Regions from separate parts of the Homo sapiens genome. Here region 1 is linked to region 2. Evidence: promoter capture Hi-C in human tissues and cell types (Jung and others, 2019). All regions are on one chromosome and are shown on one strand. The core of a region is centred on a gene start or on the middle of the fragment in contact, and the rest is flanking DNA. Distances in the headings are between cores, read along the strand shown.

Region 1 (2,700 bases), core at 39-2,538, 400 kb before region 2:
TCCTACAGCCCTCAGCACCAAGAAGAACTTGGAGGGAATATTGGGCTTGTTGAGAAAGTGGGAAAGAAATTAGAATTTCTCCCAATAGAAGAGGCAGATCACCTTGGCCTACTCTCTAGGACACAGGTCTTTCTTCTGTGCTACACCAACACTACAGAATACAAACTCATACATATACATTTGCTACCATAGGTTCTACAACAGCCCCATGCCCTCCAGGCAGAAGGTGGAGGCAGGTGGCCGCTGATTCTGAGGATCCCTGTGTGAACAGTGCCGTTAGCCCTGAGGGGAGCTGGCGCTTGCCCAGGCTGTGCCAACTGGGATTTCTAAGCTCCTTTTTCCCTCACCACCATGCTGAAACCTTTTTTTGCCTCACATATATCAACTATACTTAAATGGTACAGAAAGAACCAATATTTGAAAAGTTACAGTAAATCACTGAAGCAGAAAGATAAAACTATACCCCAAGGATCCAAATGAGGTTTAGGGACATAAAACAATTGGCAAGAACCAAATCAAAAGTTGGCTATGCCACAGCTTTGGCAGAAACTTTCCTGGAGATGATGAGGGGTTGAGGTGAGTTGCTATGTGCTTTATTTTGGAGCCAGATAAAATATTCTGGAAATCATTTCAGAAGGTCCTATGAAACAGGCATTTAAAAAAAAAAAAAAAAGAAGAAGACACACTTTGGTATTGAAACCGAGCGCTCACTGGCAGGTGTCGCAAAGATTAAGGCTTCAGGTGAGAACGCAGTGATGGCAACATGGAGATGGCGCCATACCGGGCTTGAGGCTCTGCTCAGACGCCTCCTGCAGGCTCACACGGCTCAGGGGCCACTGGGCAGGACAGCCTCTGAGTGCAGCAGCTTCCCTAGGGGAGGTGGACCACGTTGTACCACTGGGCAGCCTTGGTGTCTGCACCAGCTCCAAGAGATACTGCTGCTCTGACACCACGCAGGTCTCCATGGGCACTGCTGAGTTGACCGCAAACTCCACTCTTCCACTTCTGGTGGTGGTCAGGGCTGGGGAAGGTCCGTCATGACGCAACCTGGCTAGCCCTTGGGATAAAGAATGCCCACTGCTCCCATCAGTCCCATGCTGGAAGACTCTAACACAACTAAGCAGAAGAGCCCTGACCTCCAGCCACATCTGCCGTCTGCCCTGACTCCTGTAGGTGCCCAGTCCGGGGAACAACCAACAGGTCACATAAGCAACAAGAACTTCCAAGAGGAAATGGATATAAAACCAAGGAAAGTGGTAGCCCCATTGTTGATAATCTAGATACAAAATAATGAAAAGCTAGTACAAAACTCTTTAAACATGCAACTCTTTTTAAACAACAATCCATACTCTGAATATGTATCAGAGCAGGTTAAAGACTACACTGCTACATACCCGCAGTCTGTTCCCTGGAAATGGCGTGAGGGTGGAGGCTGGCACATGATGTGAGAGACATGGCTTCTGCCAGAGAAGCCCCGGACAGCTGCGAGCGCTGGCTGAGAACGTCGCTGGGGGCCAGTCTTTCCGGGGTCACAGCCAGCATGCTGATGTCATGGCTGATAACATCACCCTCAATCACCCACCAAAAGGAACCCATACGGTAAAAAGCGGAGGGGGGAGGGGGAATAATGGAGAAGGAGATGGAAATCACTTATATGATTTTTGTGACATGGTTGAAACACATCCTTTGAGGAGGGGGAAAGTTGGGTGGAGCTGGGAACAGAAGTTTTATTTACAAGATCTCCTGAATTATTAACAGACCTTAAAAATTCCAAATGGAAAACTTCTGTTATCAAATCACTGAAAATAGCATATATATCTGGTTCTACCAAAAAAGAAAAAAATCTGGCAATATTGACCAGTTTCCAAATGATTAAGAAAAGAGTGTCAAGAAACCAGTAAAATACATAGGAAAAGGTGGCCCTTTTTATCCTCCTCCACCACACCACTTTGGAAAACATTTTAGGGTTCTTCATTGTATTTTTCTAATACATTTTACCAATTGTCCAGAAAATCAAATCCCGTCTTCAAGACGACATTACTTGAGCTGACCTGTAGAAGGGACAAAAACATGGAAGTAAGACGAGCCTCTTTTTTTCAGTTACGTATAATCTAAAAACAGCATCTCATTTAAAACGACCCAGATAAAAGAGCCTACTTCTGTCTCAGAGGTTCCCTGACCTCAATTTATCTCAGTGCTTGAAATCAGAAGATTAAATACAGTTCAATGCAATCTATACTCTGCCAGCATCCAACACTAACCCCTCTTCAACCCCAGGCATGTCTGTGAGCAGCTTACAGACCTTACAGAGAAAAGAACAATGTCTCTGTATTTTTCTATAAATCTTTTCTGTTTCTGAATGACAGCCATGTTTAAATTTATTCATCCTAAATAAGAGAACAAATGATAAAGATATTCCTTCAAATATAAAACAAACATCACACACAAACACAACAAAAAAGAACTTGTAAAGTTGAGAAAGTAAACATAGTGTGGAAAGAATGTGAAGCTTATTTCTTTCAGATCTTGTGAAAGGTTATGAAGTGATTTTCCCAAACTCTAAGCTCAGCCTCCGGGGCTCAAGCGATCCTCTTGCCTCGGCCTCCCACGTAGCTGGGACTACAGGCATGCACCAGGCGTGCACCACAAGGCCTGGTTTAATGTCATTCTTCTTTCAGGGGAAAGGGCTTAACTGACAGG
Region 2 (2,885 bases), core at 86-2,585:
TTCAATGCCTTCAGAGCTCCTACCATGATTTCCAGCCTGTGTTGACATGAACTATATTATTTTGCAGAATAGTCTTTTCCTCTAGATTTTAAACTTCTCAAGGTCAGAGACTAAGTCTTCTCTGTCCTCCAATATGTCCAAGGGCACAGAAATGCTAGTTAATACAAGCATGGGGTCTGGGGCTAGAATCAGAACCCAGGCTCTGCAAAAATTACCAGTCAGACAACCTGCATCAGGTTTCATGAACTTCTAGTACTTGTTTCTACATCTGCAATCATGGATTTATGACAGTGTCTATTTCATGAAGTTGAAAATTAAATGAGCAAATACACGAAAAGCATGTGCTATATGGCAAGTTCTCAACAGTTTTAACTATTATTCCTACTGTTTAGGTGAACTTAGAATTTTGAGCAGTCATTCCAAAATAAAAATAGCTTTTAAAATATCACGCTGTAAATTTAAGAAATGTGTGTTGTCCTGAAATCTAATGATTTTCTTTGGTGCATGTGCAAAGGGTGTCACCTTCTCCCGGGAAAGCTCTTCAGAGTATGAGGCACTGTCTTCCTACTGACATGCCATGCGACTTTAATAGGCTCTTTTATTTTCCTTTTCCCCCATCAAGACAAAGAACGGAGAGTAAAAGATCAGCGCACTTGTTTAAAAAAAAAAAAGTCGTGAAAAGGACAACTCGCCAAGGACTATGATGTCTCTGGAGAGGGACACACAAGGATGAAGCTGGTGTATTATCCAACAGGCCCGAGGCCCCAGAGCGAAATGACACCATCGCACCAGGGTCAGGCAGGTCTTGGGGGTGGCATGGGGAAAGGGGACTTCCCAGGGCTCAAGAAAACGTGGAAAAGCGGGCTACTTTTAAATCGGAAAGCCTTGGTGCTTCCTACAAGCAAGTAGGATGGTCCCCACACTTGGGGACGAGTTGGAAGGTTTGATGAATAACTCAGCAGAGCCCGGTCGAGGGGTGACTTCCGATGGAGAAATGTGTTCGCTACTGGAACCAGGTGGGACGAAGGGTGCTTGACATGCAAGAACCTTTAGCCTCAAAGCAGAGGCCAACCCAGGACGGGCAACACAGGAGACCCACGTTCCTCAAATCTGTTCTCCACGTGGGCTCCTGGGACCCCGCACTCACCAAAGTCGTAAAGGTTCTGGAGCAGAGCGTCAAGAAGTGTCGGAGAACTGGGAGGCGTGGAGGACCCCGGCCCTTGCTCCTGCGACATTGTGGGGTCAGCCGAGGAATCAACCCTCATTCTGCCGCGCTGCACCCCCGCTTCCGGGTTCCGCGACTGCGCGCATGCGCTGCAGGGCCCTGCGCGGCTTCCGTCCTGGCTGAGATGGCGGCGCCCGGGATCCTGTGTAGCGGCTGCAGAGGGTGCCGCCGCCCTAGGCGAAGTAGGGCCGTCCTGAGCGAAAGAACCGCCCCCAGCAGGAGCACCACCACGGCTTAGCAAAGAATCCCAGACCCCGCCCGGGAAGGCAGCCGCACCATGGAGTCTTCCAGTTCATCTAACTCTTATTTCTCCGTTGGCCCAACCAGTCCCAGCGCTGTCGTGCTCCTCTACTCGGTAGGCGCCCAGGGAAAAGAGGCCCAGAGCGGAGCCGCGCGAAATAGTACCCCTTTCTCCCAGTCCCTATTCCTCCGGCCCACCACCCTTGCCCAAAAGAGCTGGCCCCTAGGCTCCCGAGGAGGGGTTAGTTGGTTGGATTGGTTTCCAGGACAACAGTGTATCGCTGTGTGTCTGTGTGTGCATGCTTTTGGAAGTTTCTACGGATTATGGTTCCTTTGGTTCCTTTCCACTTTTTCCTTCTCTTTCTTTCTATCAGGCCCTGGGGCCTTCAGAAAGCTCCTGGACACGAGAATGAGGAATGAGAATTGGAGTCTCCCCATCTCTAGCGAGGGCATGTCGAGCTACCTTTTGGGCAAACCTGAGAAACTTGCGGGTTTGACCCGCCCTGAGATAGCCTGTGGCTCCGCACCCCGCCCTATGCTGCTGTTATATTCCTGGGAGTAGAGCACTTGGCTTGTATGTGGGAATAGAGTTTTAAACACTTCAGGAAAATTTAGAACTTCTAGACATTTTTATTGCCTGTTCTTGTCTTCCAGTCATTATTGTACCTTTTCCACAAATCATTTTGGAGGACAGCCAGCGCCACCCAGCTTCTCTCCCGCTTGTCTTTTTTTCCTCCAACCCCCTCTTCCTCTCTTGGTTTTAACGGGTCTTTTTGGCTGGCAGATGTTGGTCACCCACGATTTTCATGAAGAAATTATGAGATGGGAGCTTTATAGCCTTCAGGATTGCACAGACCTGGGGCAACTGGTTTGGTTTTTGTTTGTTTCTTGTTGTTTTTAACCACTAAATTAGTTTTTAGCTACTTTAGGAGAAAATGAAAGAATTCATTTTAAAAGCATATTAGCATATCCTGGTGATTACTGTCCAATTTTGGCTTAAATGTAGTGTTCATTTGTGCAGAAAGGTCAAAACAGGGATAACACAGCAGAGCAAGATAAACACCCCAGTTTTGAAAGAGAATATATGGGTTCCTTCAAATTGAGACACCAATATTCTTTGGAACATGGAGAAACTTCTGTTCCCTCTCTATCAAGACCTTTCGGTTTCTGATTGCTAACTGCCTATAAGCCTTATTATTTAGATATATCTCTTCATTGATCTTATCTTCCCCACAGTTCTGTGGTGGATATCAACTTTGTTTTCTGACTCTGCTACTCCAGAGCAGGCACGAAGGGAAGAGGGTTGCTGTGCAGATCCAGCTTTTAACATGTAGCTTTTTAAGCTCCCAACTGGTTTGTGAATTGGTTGGAATTTTCCTTTTGTACATTAAAGGAAGGAGTTGGTTTTGTTTGTTTGTTT

What was found. The method cuts DNA at HindIII sites, captures the fragments that hold promoters and counts their contacts. A contact is called where the count stands out against the background at its distance.
Region 1: a fragment that was not itself captured here is called in contact with the fragment with the promoter of GNPAT in region 2 in 3 of the 25 tissues and cell types used here (dorsolateral prefrontal cortex, pancreas and psoas muscle).

Annotation. Positions count from the first base shown.
Region 1 is chr1:230,837,858-230,840,557 of GRCh38, forward strand. C1orf198 (chromosome 1 open reading frame 198) reads right to left here. Exons shown (of 4, transcript NM_032800.3): 4 at 1-2,051. The coding sequence ends at 1,995. Among named protein-coding and RNA genes, the nearest start is that of C1orf198, 29 kb to the right of the region's middle. The HindIII fragment of the contact is 5,884 bases long and covers 1-2,700 here.
Region 2 is chr1:231,239,877-231,242,761 of GRCh38, forward strand. GNPAT (glyceronephosphate O-acyltransferase) reads left to right here and starts at 1,336. Exons shown (of 16, transcript NM_014236.4): 1 at 1,336-1,580. The coding sequence starts at 1,503. FSAF1 (40S small subunit processome assembly factor 1) reads right to left here and starts at 1,299. Exons shown (of 7, transcript NM_152379.4): 1 at 1,148-1,299. The coding sequence starts at 1,265. RefSeq lists enhancers at 1,029-1,368, 1,349-2,238. The HindIII fragment of the contact is 11,594 bases long and covers 1-2,885 here.